Linked DNA regions of Homo sapiens: all the other regions are linked to region 4. The links are contacts of gene promoters, found by promoter capture Hi-C in blood cells and fetal thymus (Javierre and others, 2016). All regions are on one chromosome and are shown on one strand. The core of a region is centred on a gene start or on the middle of the fragment in contact, and the rest is flanking DNA. Distances in the headings are between cores, read along the strand shown.

What was found. The method cuts DNA at HindIII sites, captures the fragments that hold promoters and counts their contacts. A CHiCAGO score of 5 or more calls a contact.
Region 1: a contact is called between a fragment that was not itself captured here and the fragment with the promoter of MYO1D in region 4, in 2 of 17 cell types (endothelial precursors and activated CD4 T cells). The highest score is 6.7, in endothelial precursors.
Region 2: a fragment that was not itself captured here is called in contact with the fragment with the promoter of MYO1D in region 4 in 15 of 17 cell types (endothelial precursors, erythroblasts, megakaryocytes and 12 more); the score reaches 12.2 in endothelial precursors.
Region 3: a fragment that was not itself captured here is called in contact with the fragment with the promoter of MYO1D in region 4 in 14 of 17 cell types (endothelial precursors, activated CD4 T cells, total B cells and 11 more); the score reaches 13.8 in endothelial precursors.

The regions. Positions count from the first base shown.
Region 1 is chr17:32,756,037-32,761,029 of GRCh38, reverse strand. It overlaps MYO1D (myosin ID), which reads left to right. Exons shown (of 22, transcript NM_015194.3): 9 at 403-548; 10 at 626-740. Among named protein-coding and RNA genes, the nearest start is that of MYO1D-DT, 120 kb to the left of the region's middle. The HindIII fragment of the contact is 1,200 bases long and covers 3,046-4,245 here.
Region 2 is chr17:32,792,848-32,798,285 of GRCh38, reverse strand. The region is part of intron 1 of MYO1D (myosin ID); the gene reads left to right. Among named protein-coding and RNA genes, the nearest start is that of MYO1D-DT, 81 kb to the left of the region's middle. The HindIII fragment of the contact is 1,419 bases long and covers 3,441-4,859 here.
Region 3 is chr17:32,772,343-32,777,334 of GRCh38, reverse strand. MYO1D (myosin ID) reads left to right here. Exons shown (of 22, transcript NM_015194.3): 4 at 1,306-1,471; 5 at 4,493-4,546. Among named protein-coding and RNA genes, the nearest start is that of MYO1D-DT, 100 kb to the left of the region's middle. The HindIII fragment of the contact is 2,134 bases long and covers 2,396-4,529 here.
Region 4 is chr17:32,873,532-32,879,220 of GRCh38, reverse strand. MYO1D (myosin ID) reads left to right here and starts at 2,097. Exons shown (of 22, transcript NM_015194.3): 1 at 2,097-2,443. The coding sequence starts at 2,349. MYO1D-DT (MYO1D divergent transcript) reads right to left here and starts at 2,366. Exons shown (of 4, transcript NR_184086.1): 1 at 2,328-2,366; 2 at 1,260-1,377; 3 at 586-921. RefSeq lists silencers at 2,378-2,565, 1,772-2,761. The HindIII fragment of the contact is 7,647 bases long and covers 1-3,390 here.

The sequences.
Region 1 (4,993 bases), core at 2,396-4,895, 120 kb after region 4:
GAATTCATATAGCTTTAGTGGATCATAGATATTAACTCACTAGCTCTCAACTCTTTATAGTTGATGAAATTAATAATAAAGCAATGAACTGGCTTATTCAAGGGATCAGGCAAACTATTGATATAGCCGGGCAGGGAAACATGCCTGGAGAGTGTCGTTGGAATTGGTATAATGACCGGTAATAATCTTTTAAAAATACAAGCTATTTACTTTAGTTTTGCATACATCAGGTAGTTTGGGTTTTTTTAAATGGACAGTCTACATTTTCATTTGTTCTGCTGAGGCCAGTAATGGCTATGCTAAACAGTGAGAAGGTGGACAGGAATTTAAAACTGATCACAAATCCAAACAGAGGACTCATTCCCAAATTGGCAAGCATTTATGATGCTATTTTCCTTGCAGGCAATATATGAGCGCCTTTTTTGTTGGATCGTTACTCGCATCAATGATATTATTGAGGTCAAGAACTATGACACCACAATCCATGGGAAAAACACTGTTATTGGTGTCTTGGATATCTATGGCTTTGAAATCTTTGACAACAACAGGTAAACTGGAAAAGATACTTAAAACCTTGTTGCCTGTTTTCTATTTGTTGAAACTTAATTTATTCCTTTTCTTGTAGTTTTGAACAATTCTGTATCAATTACTGCAATGAGAAACTGCAGCAGCTATTTATTCAGCTGGTTCTGAAGCAAGAACAAGAGGAATACCAGCGGGAAGGGATCCCCTGGAAACATGTGAGTGGACTCTTATGGAAAATGCCTTCATGTGTTTCTCATATTATTGATAATGTCAAATTTTATTTTAGGTATTTCTTGATCTTTTGGGGGTATTTGAAACATCTGAACCTTAGCTTTCCTTTTTGGGATATGTAAATACAATTAATTTCATCATTTTTAGGTGGGATTGCTATAATTTGATAGACTGCCTTGTTGATGCCCAGAACATCCTGAGTTAGAACCAGTAAACCTGTTTTCACTTTATGGCTGCTACCACGTGGACTTACTGGTTTATATCTGTCTGTTAGGTTTAGCATACTTTATTAAGTTATACCTTAAATTGGCTGAACTTTGCTTCAGAATCTAGTTTCTTCTTCCCTTTTTCCTCCTTTTTCTCCTCTTCTACTTTGTAGACTATATGGTATTTTATTGTCTTCAGTTAATGTTGTTTATATTCTCTGAAACCTACACATTAAAATACTTGTTTTACTTTGCATTTTCTTGTGTATTACACTTCAATTATCACCTCTACTCTAATCAATCTTTGGGAACTTTTGTATTTGTCAGAGGCAAACTAATCTGGTAAGATATAGCTGGAAAGTATAATGGGTGCACAGTGCAAACCACAGAGATCAAAGCTAAAAGGCATGACTTGTTTGGTTTTTAAATTTCCTGTGATAAGACCTTCTGTTTATGATAGAAATGAGACATAGTAATTTTTCTTGTAAGTTTGTATTTTTAAGCAATTTTGAGAATAAACTTGAAAAATACAAAAACTTTTAAGTTTCTGTAGTTTGAGTTTATATGATTGTTCATCCTCTTGCCAGAGAATAGAAATGAAGCCAGTATTTGTTTTTTGTTATCCAATATAATAGCAGCAAAAAAATATTTGAAATACTATATTTAAATGACTTTTATCTTCCTTCCTACCTATTTTCTATTTCCTCTCATTCTGAAATAAAGAGACAGTGATATAACAAATAGCTTTCCCGCCTCAAAATTGTATCTGCCTTCCATCATGTGTTAAACGTTAGAATACCATAAAACAGTTGCTCAGGTATATTGGCATAAATTTTACCTATCTGCATATAAACCAAAGGGCTATTTTATATAAGAATTATCTATAGTTTGACTTAAATAATGAACTCTCCTAATACAATTAAAATTTAATTCAGTTCAATTAAGTGTATATGAAGCTTTCTAAGAATGAAACTGTTGTATAATATAATACACGGTATAACTGAAGCTTGGATTTTTAATACCAAATTTAATCATAAAACTTGTTATTCAAATGTGATTCCAAGGTACTAGTCAAAAATATCCTTTCACAATCAGAATATCAAATTTCACAGACATAATTGACAACAGGGTAAGTAATGCAGTGGACTGTTCCAAACATCTCAAAAAGAATTAAGAATCCCAAAATGCAAAAAATTTTCGCTAAATAAACCAAGAACTATTTGTCCTAGAGGGAGCAGAAGGCTAACTCCAAGGTAACAGTTACTTACTACATGGCAGATCCCCCCACAATTAGAATCTCTATTCTGGGTAAAACCCCAAACTTCTAAACATAGTGATTCTTTTTAAAAGATTTTTTATTATGGAAAATTTTAAACACACATTAAGAAGACAGACTATAGTACAGTAAACCCTATATACCCATCACCTGGCTTTAACACGTACCAGTTGATTGCCAGTCTTATGCCATCTGTACTATACCCACCTACTCCCAGATTATTTTGAAGCAAATTTCAGATATCACATTATTTCATCTATTCAATTGGGTATCTATTCAGTAAATATTTCCATGTATTTCTCTAAGAGAGTTTTACAAAAACCATAATCACAATGCCATTATCATACCTAAAACATTAACAAAAATTCCTTAATATCATAAAATATCCAGTCAGTATACATGTTTCATATTTCCTTAATTGTCTTCTGGTTGTTGTTTTGCAGGTTAAATTTGGATCCAAATAAGTTTCTTACATTATGATTGATTGATAGGTCTCTTGCATATCTATAGATTTTCTCCATGTTTCTTTTTTTCCTTGAATGATCTCTCTTTGCAATCTTGTGTTGAAGAGAATGAGTCATTTGTTATGGAGTTCCCCACAGTCTGGATTTTGCTAATTGCATTCCTCAGGTGCCATTTAATATGTTTCTCTGTTTCTTGTATGTCCTGTATATTGGTTGTTAGATCTAGAGTCTTGACTGGATTCAGAGTCAGTTTTTTTCCACAGCCCATTTCATAGACTGTGTGTGAACTTCCACCAGGAGGTTCATAATGTCTGGTTATCTGGTACATTCACTTTTAAAAGCTTTCGATGCTGTAGTTTGCAAATCATTTTAACTATTGAGAACTTGATACTCAAGCACAAAGCTGTTTTATCTGGAGTGGGTATGAAAGGCCAGAGCCCCATGTCCCTAAGCTACCCCATCACAAGTCTTCTGGCTCCTGGTATCCCTTAGGAAACCTTACGGGAATGCCAAGTTGCTGGAAGAACTTAGTTTGAAAACTACTGGTTTAAGCAATGTTTGAAGCAGTATTAAACTTACAAACTGAAAGTTACTAGCAGAGACCAATAGCTTTTAATAATATAATTGGGATTTTAGGGAAGGTAATTCTTTAGTCCCTGGGACAAAAGACTTCGTCTTTAATTTCACAGTCCCGAAGTCTAAGATGTCAACTATTAATATAGAGCTCCTGCTTTTTGAGTATTTTTAGGATTTTTTTTCCAAAGATGGAAATAACTTTTCTCCCTAATTAGAAATGTAATAAATGCCCATAATGAAAGTAAATATTTAGACCTACACTGCTTCACCTCAGTACTACTGAGATTTTGTGCCAGATAGTTCTTTGTTGTGGAGGCTGTTCTATGCATTGTAGGATGTTTAGCAGCACCCCTGGCCTCTACCCACCAAATGACAGTAGCACCCCTACCCCATTTTGACTAGAAATGTCTCCTGATATTGCCAAATGTCCCCTGGTGAGCAAAATTCCCCCTATTCCCCTATTTGAGAAACTTTAGTTTAGACAGATCAGAAAAGTATAAAAAACAAAGTAAAAACTACCCAGTTTACAGGTTTCAGTCCATAAGATACAGAAGAGAACATGCAAGACTAGAAATGGAGCTAAAAGCCATGTACAAATAACTGGCATAAAACCTTGGATTTTAAAGCATGAAATGGGAATACATGAGTCACTTGAATGGTCTATTATGAGTATATAGACCTTATAGAAGGTAATGGAGACAGCAATCAGTTTAGGTAACTCCTGCGTAAGATGGGACATAGCAAGATTAAACTGTGTGATCATAAGCTGCCCCTCTTTGAGATGTGCAGCTTGCCTGAGTTGGCCTTTCTTTGTGTGCCTTCTGTGTGTAGTGATAGGTACATTGCAGGCTGTCAGAATAAACAGGTGTGGCAGAGGATTGTTGGACAAACCTTGTACATGTATAGTTGCTGAAAAGCCAGAAGTTATTTATAACTTCATTCACCTTGTGGAAGTAAAGGAAAAGCTTTTTCTTATCTTTTATAGATATTTATTTCTCAGAATTAAATTCTTTATATTATGCCTAGAAAAATGTAAAAATTCTACTGAATTTTTTCAAATTGTTCAAAATTCTATTGAAGCTTTTTAACTTTGGGGAAACCAAAAGAAATGCTCTTTTGGATTTTAGTCATTCAGGGTCATGTAACTAAAAATGCAAGTTCTTTTTTTTTTTTTTCCGTTTTAAGTGGAGTTTATTTAACACTAAGAGATAAAGGGTTGTTAACAAACACAATGACAAATGGACATCTGATTGGGATGAGGCATTATCCTGTACACATAATGTTGATATTTTTGTGTACCCTCAGTGCATGGCATTTACACATAGAGCCACTACTGCACAGCACAAGAGTATCTGAAGAGGCTGAATCAGAGTAAGGCTGTTTAAAAGACTGAAATTTTTTAGTATATATATTCTGCATGAAAACAGAACTTTTGAACTGGCAGGTAGAAGGCAACTCTGCCAAACACTACAGTTAAAGCCCCCACTTTAGTGCACAGTTCCACCCCTTCCATCTGCATGCGTGACACATTAACAGTATTTAAAGGTAAACGAGGCACTTTGTGGCAACTGCAGCCATCGTTATGAACATATTGCACAAAATTTCTAGAACTAAACATTTAACTTGTACCCTACTTTTATAAAATTGCAAGTTTTGTGTAGTACCTTAACTTTATTATGAAGTAGTATATCAGATAATACTTTAAGGTTATTTGT
Region 2 (5,438 bases), core at 2,901-5,400, 83 kb after region 4:
CAAGGAGAGCCAGCAGACAAGGTGTCTGGCCCTTCATTAATTCAATAAATATTTTGGCTGATTTTAAAATACTTTGCTCAGTTCCTTGTTGGCTATTAATTCACCCCAACAAAAACAATAGTCAAACAATAACTTTAGGAGCGTCTGGGAAACTTTCCGGTTTTCCTACTCATGCAATCCATTCTGTAGTAGAAGTAGATCTCCTTCCCAGGTCAGTGAAAGCTGTGCTTTGTAATTCAGATTTCTCCAAGTAGAGATGATGGTTAAATGATTGGCATAAACGTATTTCTTTCTTACCTGTAACTGGGCACATGATGTCAACAAAAGAGGGCTTTAGAAGATTTTCTATTAATATTTAGTAAATGTATAATTAGCAACATACATGGAAAAGATCTAAAATAATTCTAGGCACAGAGTTGATGCATAGTTAATATTAGGTCAGAGTGAATCTGTTTATTGAATTTTAAAAAGTTTTGTGACAGTAAGCTGAAATGAAAGTAATCCATGCGCTTGACGTTAACCACCTGTGAAAGTCTTCAGTGTCTCTTGTCACGACTACAATAGCTCCTCCTTATCTGTGAGGGATACACTCCAAGACATCTAGTGGATGCCTGAGACCACCTATACTGAACACTATATATACTGTTTTTTTCTATATGTACATAGATGTGATGACGTTTAATTTTTAATTTAGGCACAGTAAGAGATTAACAGCAATAATAAAATAGAACAATTATAACAATAAACTGTAATAAAAGTTATATGAATGTGATGTTTCTCTCGAAATATCTTCATGTTTTTGGGCCATGGTTGACCGAAGATAACTGAAACCACGAAAAGCGAAACTTTGGATAAGGGGGACTACTGTGCCTCCCAGCCTGTGCCCAAAAGCTGCCTATCTGGGTACCTGAGGATTTTTAATAACACCTTGGAAAACCTTTCTTTAAATACATCACAGTCTTCACATGTTATGAAAAGTGGGATAAGAAACTATGTTTTTAGAAAAGTGATGCAGCAGGCCAGGTGTGATGGCTTACGCCTGTAATCCCAGCACTTTGGGAGGCCGAGGCGGGTGGATCACGAGGTCAGGAGATCAAGACTGTCTTGACCAACATGGTGAAACCCCATCTCTACTAAAATACAAAAAATTAGCCGAGTGTGGTGGCAGATGCCTGTAATCCCAGCTACTTGGGAGGCTGAGGCAGGGGAATCGCTTGAACCTGGGAGGCAGAGGTTGAAGTGAGCTGAGATCGCACCACTGTACTCTAGCCTGGTGATAGAACGACACTCCATCTCAAAAAAAAAAACAACAAAAGTGATGCAGTGTACTAAGTTTTATGTCATTTTCTGAATTAGGCATAGTTATTTAAAAGTGACAGGATATACTGTTTAGGTTTCCTGTCGTCCAGAGACCCGTCCCATGGAGTGAAATACCTCAGTACCATGTAAGGTAGAGAGGCTTCCTACCAGTATAAATTTGAGAGTGGGAAGGGATGAGAATCTTAAGTTTATTCTATTTAGTTAAAGTCCTCAGCCATCTGTGGGATTTACTTGTTTTTTAAAAGGATGTTTGGCTGGGCATGGTGGCTCACACCTGTAATCCCAACACTTTGGAAGGCTGAGGCCAGCAGATTGCTTGAGCTTAGGAGTTCGAGAACAGCTTGGGCAACATGGCAAAAACCCCGTCTCTACAAGAAATACAAAAATTAGCTGGATGTGGTGGCCCGCGCCTGTAGTCCCAGCTACTCAGGAAGCTGAGGTGGGAGGATCACTTAAGCTTGTGAGGTGGAGGTTGTAGTGAGGCTGCGATCATGCCACTGCTCTGCAGTCCAGACAACACTGTGAGACAGTCTCAAAAAAAAAAGTATGTTTAATACTGTAATTCACATGGTTTTTAATATTATTTAAAATGCATAATTGTTATCAATTCATATAATTGTCAATGCCTACTAAAGAGTTTTCTACATCAGGTCCAGGTATCCTTCATTTTCCTGAGCAGTGTTGATTTATAAATAAGCTAACTCCCCAGTTAAGGTAAAATGCAGCTAACTACTTCCCTAGGTATGCCAAGTAGCCAAATGTTACCATAATGGGAAATCATTTCTAAATGGAATGGATGAAAAGGAATAAATATATAAATATTGAGCCCTATGTTGGATAAATTATGTTTATTGTTGGTTGAAAGAGAAAATCAGTGTCATATTATTAATAGGTAATTTTCATTCTCATGTTTTGGTTTAAATCTTCATGCCTGTCATTATTGGACACTCAGCACCGTTAAGGGTCTTGTATCGGTTCGAACCCCGAGAGCGCGCTAACAGACAACATGAGGTGGTGTGAAGCAACATGCTGTTTTAATGAGCACCTGGGTGCAGGCGGGCTGAGGCCTAAAATGGCCTCAGCACCAAGTGAGGACGGGGCAAAGGTTTTATAGTCTCCTGTAAACAGGAAGTGTCGTAGTCTGACGTAACTGCTATGTTGTACCCGGATGGCCTCTTTCTCAGTCTTTAGGAGTACTTGTCTTCAGGCGGACTCTCTTCCTCCTTCTGCTGTCTTGCTGGCGCAAGTTGCTGCCCCAAGTTGCACCTTGGAACTGGGCCTGAGAAGAGAGGAGTTATTCATCTCCTTAAGCTTTCAGGCCCCGGGGAGAATCTTACAAGCACTTCATAGCTAAATAATGCTATGGTGATTTATTCATGTGCTGACATTGTATAGCTTCTTTATTGTATTTTTTAAAAAACTGAATTGCATGAGACCTTAGTAGTTAACGTTTTATGGGAGGAAGCTATTGTGTTTGTTTCTATTATACCAGGAAGGTTGAATCACTGAGGAACTTGGTATGATGAATTCAGTTAGTAAAAAAAAAAAAAAATTTAAATAGAACCCAGATATCTCCTGTCTCTTTAAAATATTTTTCCACTTTTAAATGGGGCAATGAAGTATGTGTTCTCCTTGCCGTGTTTGCTGGCCGTGATGGTGTGGTTATCTGCTTGCTCTCTCCACTGCTGATGATCTGTGTTTGCCATCCTTGGTGTTGTTCACTTTGTGTTCAGGGGATCGGGTTTAATTCTATGAGAGAAAGAAGTGTGAGAAACATCTTCACTTGGATGTCTCTCAGGTGTCTCAAACAGATTGCATAGTCTGTCTGAATCACAGTTGCCTCCTGTCCCTATCCTCATTAATGGAGCATCACGGTCTGCTCAGTAGCTCATGTGAGATACTTACCCTGACACTTCCTTCTTTCTTGCCTCTCATACCCAGTAAGTTACCGTCTCCAATAGATTATATCTCTACTCTTAAAGCCTGTCTACTTCTCTGTCTCTCTACTGCTCCATCCCAACCAGAGAACCCGTCATTCCTTCCTGAGACCAGCGTAGTGCTTCCTAATTGGTCCATTAGCAGGCACTCAATTCCTTACACCCTGCAGCCAAAGGGAAGCTTTCAAAAAAGCAAATGTGATCAATACTTAAAGCTCCACCCTTGGATAAAGTCCACAAGCCCTAAGGCCTTGCGCGCTCTGGCCCTCCTCCCACACCTCTCTCCCTATGCTCTCTCTGCTGTGGTATAGTCACATGCCCTGCTCTGGATTCCTCAAACACTGCTGCTTCCCTCCACCAGTACAGTGCATTCTATTGGCTCTCCCTGGACCTCCATTTAGTGTCTGTCCTTATCATTGCCTGCATTAGGGTGGAGATGAGTCTGCTGTTTATTCTTCTGCTTGTGGCTCCCAGCACAATGCTTGGAACATGAGTGCTAATAACTAATGATTGATTGAATAAACAACTGGATACAAATACAATTAAATACATCAATAACATTTAAAATTAGGCATGCCATAATAAATAAAAGAATTGTGTTTTGAAAAAGCAAGCATCACCTAAAAACGTATATATCAAAAACAGTTGTTTTCCATTGCAGAGGAAAGGTAAGATAATTCATCTAGGCATCTCCTGACCACATCTTCTGGTTAACTACCATTTGTGCAGCTCAAATGAAGAAATATTGCACCAGAAGAAGAAAGCCAAGAAATGAAGTCACAACGTCAGTCATTTAATCCACCACCTGTGGTCCTAACTAGTTCTTATGTCCTGTGGTAAGCCTAAGCAATTTTACTGAAGGCATTTGGCCTTAGAGGGTCCCCATGAACTGCTAGAAGAATGCTTTATAAACATGAAGCCAAGCTGGATCACCGTTCGCTGTGCTAGCAGAAGTAACCCTCACTGTGATGTTAAACAGAAACATAGCACTGATGCCGCATGCTGAACAATGGGTCTCAAGTGGAAGAAAGATATTTCCTGCCATTCTTATGACTTCTGCTATTGCTCATAATAAAAATACGACTTGGTATTATTGTGCTGTTACCATGTACTAATTAGTGTGCTGAGCACTTTATGCAGAGTATCTCACTTCTTGTAACAATCCTCTGAGGGAAAGGTACTATATCAGTTGAAGAAAGTGAGGCACAGGGAGGTTAAACAGCTTCCACGTGATCATAGAGCTAGTCAGTGCTAAACTGCAGCCAGATCCCAGAGTCCACCTTCTTAATCAATACACCCTTTCCTCTGCTATCGATGGGCCTGGGAATACCCATATGCTGCACTGATGGGCTGTGGTGGTGGTTCTTAAGTGCTGTCTTCCAAGTTGTTAATTCTAGGCTTCAGTGTGTTAACAAAAGATCAAAATAAAGCATCCTTTTCCAAATCATTTTAAGAAAGTGTAAACCAAGAAGTGGTTAGAACTGTCTATGTGGAGATTATATAATTGCATAAATAATTCAAATGTCAAGCAATACAATTTTTAGGAAGTCTTCTTTGAAGCCTCCCACTCCTAAAGCTGGTTTAGGTATCCTTCTCTAAGCTTCCATGACATTCTTTCTATCTTTGTTATTGCCTTAAATCTTTTCTGGAACAGAGAGAGAGATTGAGAGACAGAGGAGAATGAGAACAAGAAGGGAATAAGTTTAAAAAAAAAAAAAAAGCCTAGTTTTTAAACCCTCTATCGTTGTGCTTACTGCATAGCATTGTCTATTTATATAAGCCTTTGAGTACAATAATACTATGTCTTATTCTTCTAGTAACTAGTAAGTGTCCATGTGCCAAGTACTATGTCAAGAGCTTGAGTGCTGCACTGGTGGACTGTGGTGGTGCTTCTTAAGTGCCCTCTTCCAAGTTGTCAATTCTAGGCTTCAGTGTGTTAACAAAAGGTCAAAACAAAGCATCTTTTCCAAATCATTTTAAGACAGCTTGAGTGCTCTTGACATAGTACCTGGCACATGGACACTTACTAGTTACTCAGATGTTTATAAATGCACACAATCAGTAACTGGCAGAGCCAGGGTTCAAACCCAGGGCTCCAGTGCTGTATGACTCTAAAGCTCATAATTGGAGACCAAGGTAGGGGGATCATTTGTGGCCAGGAGCTCCAGACCAGCCTGGACA
Region 3 (4,992 bases), core at 2,213-4,712, 100 kb after region 4:
TTGATGTAAAAGAAGAGAACTTACACTTCACTACCCTGCGTAGCCTTTCTTCTTTTCATCATATTGGGCTGCATTGCTGGGCCAGGAGAGGCATTTTTCTTAATTGTAACATATCCCTCCTTCTTACTCTGACTTTACAATCTAGTTTGACAAGGACAGGGATATGTGTAAATTTTCTTAATTTCCTTAGGAGCTCAGGAGAGCAACTAGATGAGAAATAAATTAATTTCACACCTACAATAGTAGAGTAAGGCATATATAAATTTACTAGTCTTTCACAAACATATCTTATCACAAGCAGTTTCCCCCCACACACATATTTTTAAAATATGCTTTCATTTATGAGGCGATAAGGTTGAACTCTCCAGTATTAGCGGGAGTAACAGTAGATCTTCTACATCAAGTTATTTCAGAGGCCAAAGTTATTTCTGCAGGTATGCCTGTATAAGAAGAATTTTATCAGTGGAATGAAAACAAGGATATAGCATGAAGTTTAAAATGTATCCATTGGGAGGGACTGCTGTATAGAAAGTTAGCATTCGTCGAATAAAGAATGCATTAAATGGCTGGTACAAAGGAGAAATTCCATACAGCTTCAAAGAAAATAATGAGCAATTTCTGAACTAGTGAAGATTAAATTTATGATGTATAACTAAGTACAATAAAATGTCACAATTCCAGGTTTTATAAGCAAGTGCCTTAAAAATTGTATCATTTTCTGTATCACCTATTCTTTCCCTTTTCAGAACACATCTTTTTAAAAATTTTCTTTATGTAGATAAAATATGTACATTTATAAAATGAAAAACAAAAATTACAGAATTAAGTTGAAGATGTAAAAGTTCCCTGAAATCCTACCTTGCCCATTCCATCAGTCTCCTGTCTAGATAACCATAGTAAGGTGTGCTGATCCCTCCAGATTTTTAAGCATTTGCTGATACATGTGTATGCACACACACACACACGTGAACATACACATACACACACAAGGATCCTGCAATGCATGTTATTTGACAACTTGATTTTATATTCATTAATATATGCTGGACATTTCCATGTGAGTACATATTGATGTACCTCATTCTTTTTAGCACCTGTATAGTATTTCATTATATTGGGAAACAAAAATTTATTTTTATCCCTATTGGTGGACATTAATTTGTTTGTTTTTTTTTTGATATTGCAAACAGTGCTGGAGTTAGCATCTTTGTATAAATATTTGTATGTGGTTTAGCAAAATCCAGTTTTTAAAAAATTCTAGTCTCTATAAGTTTTTATAATGACTTTCATTTATCTGTGTTAAAGAGTGAAGAATATGTTGCTTAAGTCCAACTGTGTTTTGGAAGCTTTTGGAAATGCCAAAACCAACCGTAATGACAACTCAAGCAGGTTTGGAAAATACATGGATATCAACTTTGACTTCAAGGGTGACCCTATTGGTGGGCATATCAATAACTACTTACTAGAAAAGGTAAAATATGCTTAATTTCTGAGGGTAATGTTTTAAGTGCTGAATGTTTAAACAAATTATATTTATAGAATTTATTTTATTGACTCAAAATAGCTTTAAATCCTATTCTCCCTTCTTCATTAGCTTTTTATGATAAGGTATTCTCCTTTTGTCTTCTCTTCTTAGCACTTACACTGTCAAGTTGGAAAAAGTTGTGGACTTTGTAGATAGATTTAGCTATGCGTGTGAATGGGTGGGGGCACAGGTATGAGTGTGTGCCAGCTTCTGGGTAAGGTTTAACCGAAAGTCAATCTAAGACTAATCAGTTCTAGCCTTTTTATACATCACCATCTTCTATACATTTTAATTTTAATTAATTTGATATCTCATTTTCTTCTAGTTTCTATTTGTTCATTGCTTTATAGTAACATATATGTATTTTGTGATCTTACATCCTAATTATGAAGCGAACTGTATTTGGTCAGTAAAAACTTAAAATAGGCCCAATTTCTAGAGGATTCCAATTAGAATTTTCTTCTTGGGACCACCAGAGAGGTTGTGTCTGGTTTGGTTTTGTGTTTTTTGAGACAGAGTCTCACTCTGTCATCCAGGCTGGAGTGCAGTAGCATGAACATGGCTCACTGCAGCCTCAACCCCCCAGGCTCAAGCAATCCTCCCACCTCAGCCTCCTGAGTAGCTGGGACCACAGGCATGGCCCACCATACCCAGCAATTTTTTTTTTATTTTGTAGAGATGGGGTCTCCCTGTGTTGCCCAGGCTGGTCTCAAACTCTTAGGCTCAAGCAGCCCTCCTGCTTCAGTCTCCCAAAGTGCTGGGATTACAGGCATGAGCTGCTGCACCCAGCTGGTTGTGTCTTAACTAATCTTGATTATCAGTGGACATGACTGCAAGAGAATACATAGAGTTCATTTTTACAGTTAAGCTTGTGCTTTATAAAATCAAGTCTCCACCTTGAATTCATACAGATCTAAGCCGACAGGTTTTCTCAGTTAAGGGTTTCCTATCCCAGTTAGGCCATAGCATCCTTTATGGCCATATAATGAAGTATAATCTTTATTTTTGTTTGTTATATTGAAGTCGGACTGTTAAGGAAATAAATGTATTATCAGAGTCAGTTGAAAAAGGACAGGAAATGCCAGGTATTATTATCAGTCCTTTTTCCAGAATGTTTCATCAGTTCACTTTATGTGTAATACATATTCAATCAAAAGGATCCTTTTGAATGAACTCATATTTTGAACCCTCTCCTAACAGCAGTATTTTTGGAACCATCTAAGGCAGAGGTCTCTATGGATTGATCTTGCTCAACTGACTTTTATTACAGGATATAAGGCATTGCTCTTTGAAATGCCAGCAGACCCTGGGGAAAGGAATGTTGAGAATATTCCTCCCTAAGCATTCCTTCCTATTCTCCCCACTTCTAATTCTTACCCCACCCCCAACCACCAAATTCCATCTTTAGGCTCCAGGTTAAAAAAATCAAAATAGCTTCATTCTTCAGAAAGTTTTAGGGACCTCTGTTTTAAGCAATAAAAAGAATTATCAAAGAATTGCAGGGGAAACCCCATAGAGAAGACTCATTCTTAGATGAGTATACAATCCATGGGGGTCTTTAGGATATTTAACTGATTTGGGAGAGGTCGGATAAAGAAAAAGGAGCATTAACCTTGACTATGCCTTTAGCTCCAGCCGCCTCTTTAAGAGGAAATTGTTGGGCAGGTGGGGGAAGGCTAGTCATGGAACGAAACTGTAAGCCAGATCGGGTGTGAGGAGGGGAGGTGATAAAAGGATTATAGGGTGGGAGAGCACAGGCTGAGGAAGAATTGGGACCTGGCTCAGCCTGGCAAGGCACAGCCTGGGGAGGAGGGGAGAGGTCCTGTAGAAAAGGAGGATTCAGAGGACTCAGAGCTTGGGGTGGAGACTAAAGGAACAGACAGGAGAGAAAGAAGAAAGATATGGGACAAGTCGCATTGGGAGCAGAGACTAGGGAGGGACCGATGTGTAAAAGAATGCCTGGACGTCAGGCATCTCAGATCATTTGCCCATTGTACGACAATAATTGTCTAGACCTTGTAGGATGGAGAAATTTAAAGTGCTGTTTTCTGGCTGTTTGGAACCATTGTTGAGTTTGTATTGGGGTCAAGTGGTATTGCAGAAGAAAATAAGGTGTTTAGGTTTTAGGTCAGGTGTGAGTTGAAGAGGTTTTAAGTTCTTGAGAACACAGGCTAAGGGAGAAGAAGGAGGAATGGAGGGTGGAAGGTTGACCATAGTGGAGGAGGCAAGCCCAGAGAAAAGAGAGGGTAGAGACATGGGCCGGGGTCGGGGGGTGGGGGTAGGGAGTGGGGTGGGGTTGGTACTTGCCACCCAGGAAAGTGGTGCTTGCCACCAAGGTGAAGGATCAAGGCAAGTGTCCCCACAGTGATCAGACACCAATGGAGTGTGGGTGAATAATCAGGCAGGCGTCCCTGCAGTGATTAAACACCAAGGGAAGACTGTCTTCCCGAATCCGTGACCGGTGCTGAAGTTTTGTGTTCACAGATAAAACACGTCTCCTCTGTCTCTACCAGAAAAGGAAAGGAACTGAAATTAAGGGAAGGGGGAGATTGAAGGGTGGCGCCGAAATTGAAAGGAGAAAGAGGTTGAGGGATAGTAAGAGAGGTTGGAGAAGAGAGTAAAAAGAGGCCGCTTACCTGATTTAAAATTGGTGAGATGTTCCTTGGGCTGGTTGGTCTGAGGACTTGAGGTCGTAAGTCAGTCTTTCTCACAGAGCAAAGAGCAGGAGGACAGGGGATTGATCTCCCAAGGGAGCTCCCCCGATCCAAGTCACGGCACCAAATGTCATTAGTTAAGGCAAGAATCTGCCATTTTCACTTCTTATGTGATTCTTCAGTTGCTTCAGGCCATCTGGATGTATACGTGCAGGCTTGGGCTCAGAGGCCTGACAGTTCCCTAAGAAAGTGGCTCCTGTTTTATTTTAGGGGCACATTTTCGGGTTAACCATTTTAATGTGTTTTTTCTTAGTCTCGAGTGATTGTGCAACAGCCAGGAGAAAGAAGCTTTCATTCTTTCTATCAGGTTAGTAATCCATTATACAGATAATTGATCATTTGCCCAGTTGTGCAGGAAATGAGTATTTGTGTCTTGGGCTTTCCCCTGTCCTATGCATCACTCATCTCCATTGGCCCCGTAACATGTCACGCATGCACGCACGCACGCACGCACCACATGCCCTGCCCTACCTGCTTAAGAGATTGGATGAACATGACTGTTCCACCCAGCTGGCAGGAGCTTAGCCAACCAGATGACTGCCTTGGGTGAGCATCCCCCATATTTTCTTGCAGTACAGATAACACTTTAATGACTGTGAAAGCTTTTGAAATGGTACATTCTAAATGTTAAATTAATTTTTGTTTTATTTTGAATTGAAGCTGTTGTTTCCATATTTGGGAGTTCTAGAGATCAGAATACAAATTCAGTTTGTTTCACTCATACACACTAAAAGCAATATGATTACTTTTAAA
Region 4 (5,689 bases), core at 848-3,347:
CAATGAAAACAACATACAAAAGTAAACTGGAATCCTGAGGCTAATAGTGAGCCCCATTGAGCAGATTTGGGTTCATCATGAGAGCATCAATGCCTAATTTTATACTAATTTGGACTTATACAAGAAATTAATAAAATACCCTTTGCATATGTTGTATATGTGTTTTATATGTTGGGTTCCTATATAAGATGTTGATTAAAATGAGGATCTCTTACTTTGGCCATTTGGAAACCACATTGTATCCCACCATAGCTCCTAACCACTGTACAATTTCTGCAACTCTCTCATCATCTGCAAGCCGTGATGTTTCTTTTCCTGGTACCTGGGATTTTGCCCTAATTTTTAACACCTACAGAGCTCAGGGAACACACATATATAATTTACCAAAAGGTTTTGGGGTGTGGTCCCTGGATGCTCCAAAGTGCATACAGTTTGAGATTTCTTTCTTTCCTTCTTGAAGTTCAGTTCTGCTTATGTTAAAACATGCCAATACAAACATTAGGAATACAACCATACCCTATGCAATAACCTACTTAGCCACTGACCGACACCTCCACAAATGACCCAACCATAGGACAGTCCTACCTTATTCCAGAGCTTTTATTCCACAAATGAGGACACTGATATCGAGACAGGTGGATCTCCTCCTTCTGAAGGACAGCTGCTAACGGTAGTCAGATGCAACCCAGCTCTGCTGGTGCCAGGGATTGGGGTGGTTTTCTGATGGCAGAGGCAGTCCCTCAGGAGGTGACAAAGCTCCTTTCCTTTCTCTTAGCAAGTGTGGGTGGCTGGCAGCTGAAGCAGGCCTTGGGCAAGGTCCTTCAGTCTGGTTTACTCATCTCAAACTCAGCCAGAGTTGAAGCCCAGCCAGGTCCTTGGAGGCCTCTAGATTTCCTCGTAGATTTTGTAATAGAAGATGTCCTAACAGAAACACAGGACTGAATAAATGTAGATACCTTAGAAAGTCATTTATTTAAAAAAAATAGCTGGGCATGGTGTCATACACCTGTAGTCCCAGCTGCTCAGGAGGCTGAGGCTGGAGGATTGCTTGAGCCCAGGAGTTTGAGGTTGCAGTGAGCTGTGATTGCACCACTGCACTCCAGCCTGGGTGACAGAGGGAGAATTTGTCTCCAGAAAAAGAAAAAAAAAAAAAAAAGAAAGAAAGTCATTTGTAGTATATTTTCTTTGGGAAAATACATTGAGTTCAAAAAGAATTTTCCAAGCTCAACCAATGTATCAATAAATTGGAGACTACTTACAACTCACTTCATTCCACTGAACCAGTATGGATTTCATATTTATATATGCAAAGTAGTACAATAGTTATTTGGTGGATGCAAAAAGAATGGTCCCATGCTCAAGACATCCGCAATAATCCTGGAGAGATGATACAAAGATATATTAAAAACTTAATAATCATATAAGGTAATGTCTGATGACATGCTCGGATGAGTGGAAGAGAAAATGGGCCACTGAAGAATGGAGGTAGTCAGACGTGGTTGAACGCTGCGGCTCCTAAGTCAAATGACCTGCGTGAAACCGCAGCTGCTCCACTTCCTAGTCGTATGGCAAGTTTCTTAAAAGTTCTCTAAGGCGCTGAGAACAGCTCTGGGCATTTTTGGTGCCCCAAAAATGTTAGCCATTATTATTACCTCTCAGTCTGTGCTTGAACCACCACTTCAAGAATGGGCAGGGTGTGAGTAGAGAGGCGGGAGTGGGTTTTGGAGCAGGGTGACAGAATCATAATGAATTGTCCTCGCGAAAAGCTCCACGAACTACTTTTCTAACTTTGTTGGCAGCTACCAAGTGTGGGCGGCAGGCGGCCATCCTCTTGGCCGCCTGAGATCCCAGCGCCTGTCCCCAGGGGGCGCTGCCACCCAGCTGCCGCCGCCCGGCCCAGCGCGCGTCCCCGCCGCCCACCCGCGCGTGCGCGCCGCCCAGGTGAAGAGGCGGCGGCCAGGGCCGCGGCTGGGGCGGGCTCCTCAGTGGGCCGGGAGGGGCGGAGCCGGGAGGCCCGGGCGGGGCGGAGCCGGGACGAGCCCCAGGCTGGAGGCGGGACCAGCCGCTGCCGTCTCCGTCTCGGTGTCCCGGCCCCTACAGCGCCCGGCAGCCGCGGCGGGAGGAGCGGAAACTGTCGGGTGCGTCCCGTTCGGAGCCGCGCCGGCCGAGAAGGCGCCGAGGAGCAGCGAGGCGGCCTCTGTCCGGCCCGGACCCGCCGAGCGGCGTGCGCGCCCCCTCCCCGTAGCCTCGCGGCGCGGCCTCGCCCCGGCCCCTCCCGAGCTCATCGCGGGCCCACGGAGCGGCCCCGGAGGCCCGAGCGCGCCCACCTGAGCCCCCGCGCTGGCGCCATGGCGGAGCAGGAGAGCCTGGAATTCGGCAAGGCAGACTTCGTGCTGATGGACACCGTCTCCATGCCCGAGTTCATGGCCAACCTCAGGCTCAGGTGAGGGCGGAGCGGCCGCGCGCAGGGGCGCGAGGCTGCGCTTTCCCGAGAGGGGGCGCCTCGGGGCGCGGCCGGATCCGGGGTGTCGGGAGCGCCCAAGCTCCAGGGATGGAGGCGCGGCCGGGCTGCGGTGTCCGGGGGTCTGCCAAGCTCCGCGGCTGCGCTTTCCCGAGAGCGGACGCCCCTGGGGTGCGGCCGCTTTGGGGTGCGGGGGGCGTGTCGAGCTCAAGGGCCGCGCTTCCCTGAGAGGGGAGCCCTGGGCGCTGTCCGGGGTTTAGGTGCAGAGGGTGTGCCGCGCGGGAGGGCGCGCTTCCCCGCGCCAGGTGAGGGATGTGGGCGGGCCGGTGACCTCATGGAAACTGAAGGGAAATAACTTGAACGAGAGTTGCGGTGGCCCCGAAGGCCCTAGGAGGACTGGAGGATTATTTTGGAGAGAGGCTGGCGTCTCATCCCGGCTTTACACTTGCTTCTTTTCTTTCTTTCTTCGCCCTTCTTTTTTTTTTCCTCCTGGCGTAGTTCCATCCTGTCATTCAGGATGCTATGGAGTGATCCCTGAGCTGTCTGTTCCGGGACACTGGCTATTTTTTTAGTTACTCTCTAAACGTAATTAGACACGTTTCCAGACATCGAAGAGACTGCTGTACTTGCCAGTGCCAAGATAAACTGTCTGAATTTGACAAGACGTTCATGGTTTTGGTTTTTTTCAAGGAGTTAGTGGATGGAGCTCTTGTGTTATTAACATCCTTGAGAACGTAGTCACAACTCAACGCCCCAAAATGGGCTTCCAAGATGTGGATTTGTTTTAGAAAGCCCTTTACATGCGATTATTTCACCCTTGATAGAGTAATATGTAAACAGTTTTAAAGTAGTTTGACTTAAACATTAAAGTAAGTGGAATTTCAAAATAGCTGAGTTTTGGTGTGCGTGTGTATGTTTCCCTGCAAGCTTTGGCTGCATTTCTTCTAAGGTTTATAGCTAAACATCATTCCTTAAGCTTATAAAGTGAAAGTCATAATCTAGGCTTGGGTGCTTAACCCTAATTTCATTATTAACTACCCCTGTCAATCCAGTTGACAGGGGTCAATCAGGTTGATTACATACCAGCATAATGATAGGATGTTACATTTCTGATCAAGGTTTGGATGTACAACTTTTATAGAAATCACCCCAAATATTAATCAAAATGATATACCTCTACATCAGCTATAACCAATACCCATTATCATAGTGATTAAGAGTCAGACTGTTGAGATTCAAATTCTAGTTCCACTGCATTCTTGCTGTGATCTTTGAGCAAGTTACTTAACCTCTCTGTGCCTCAGTCTTCCCGTCTGTAGGATTGGGGTTGTCCTGAGGGTTAAATGAATTATTAATAATATGTGTATACATACTTCAAAGATTAGTGCCTGGCAAATCCATATTAGTAAAACTGTTTTAAGTTTTCCCAAGTGCACATAAAATAGATAAAGGGGTAAGTTACATAGCAATTTCATAGATTAAGGTTGTTTTAAATTAAGAGATTCTACTCCTCTCCCCCACAGGAAATAAGTTGTGTGCTTTGAGAAATGCCTTTATAATTTTGTCACTCTCAGTTATAATCATTTCAGTTTTTCAGACATTGGTACATTTATTATGTACATACTGTATACAAGACCATGTAGTAACAGTTGAATATGAAGCCTTTCATTTTAACCTCCATCTTTCACCTCCAGCAAATACATGGGCTTAGCCAGAGCTTTTGCAGAATTTTCAGAATTTGAAATTGAAGGCATAGAGTCTAACAGGGCTACATTAGTTTGTAGGACTACTCCTCTGTAATAGAATTAAAACTCTTGTGGTTTTTAAAAAGTAAATTGAGGGAAGGCACTTAGAATTTCTGCTTTTTTTTTTAAAGCATTAAGTCTCTTAAGTGTGAAGTTTGAATCTCAAAATAGATTACTAAGGTGAGCCTAACAACTCCTATGTGTACAGAAGAGAATGCTGCAATTTATTTATATTTATATTTATATTTTTTAGAGATGGGCCCTTAGAGTTGCTATGTTGAGCAGACTGTTCTTGAATTCCTGGCCTCAAGCAATCCTCCCATCTTGGCCTCCCAAAGCACTAGGATTATAGGTGTGAGCCACCATGCCCGGCCGAATGCTGCAATTTAATTCTACTGTGTGCAAGGTACTCTAGGAGATAAGCTAGGAGTATCCAAAGAACTACAAGATGTGCTGCTTACCTCTCGAAGAGGTGACATCTCAATGAAGACCTGGAGAAAGGTGGAATTTTCTATTGATTTAAAGAATAGTTCAAGAAAACAACATCAGGAGGCTGAGACAGAAGGATTGCTTGAGCCCAGGAGTTCAAAGCTGCCGTGAGCTATGATCACACCACTGTACTCCAGCCTGTGTAATAGAGCACGACCCTGTCTCTTAGAAGAAAAAGAAGAAAGAAAACAGAGAGAGACAGAGACACAAAGAGAGAGAGAGAGACAGAGACAGATAAAGAGGAAGGAAGGGAAGGAAGGAGAGAAAAGAAAAAAAGAAAGGAAAAGAAAGAGAAGATAAAAGCCTTATAAAGCTTAGGTGATTATTTGTCAAGTAATTATAGAAATTGTTCTGGAAGTTCAGAAGAGAGAGAGATACCTTAGGTTGACTCCAAAACACCTTATAGAGGAAGAGAGGAGTTGAGCTGAGTTCCAAAGGATGGGTAGGATTTGTAAAGGTGGACTCGTGGCTGGAGAGCATTCCAGGTGGATTAAGCAGCATGAGCAGGGGTTGGCGGCATGAAAGCTGACTCTGGGTGACAGTGAATAAGTTAAGTTGTTTGGAAGGGAAGGGGTTGGTGTTGTGGAGAGGTGGGAGGAATCACCAGCTCTCCATATGGCCATTGGCTAAGGCCCAGGTTTTTAGGTCTACCTTTATACCCAATCTCCACATCATTCAAAATCCTGGGTGTACAGATGTATATGTATTTGTATGTATCTCATCTGTGTGTCCTTGATGACTCTGAGAACTGGCTGTGGTTCTCATTGTACAGATCAGTGATTGTTCATGACTTACTTATACATTAAAATAGTTGGTTCCCTGTAGCCATAAACACAGTGCCAGCAAAGGGTAGCACCCTTACCCTCCTCTGAAACTATAAATTCTGACCCAGACAGAAAACAGTCCTCTCTTTCCTTTCACTTTGCAGAAGGTGACCAGAAACCCACCACTGCGTAATCCAGGTGCTGTTCTGTGATGTTGAAGTGTTTTTGTC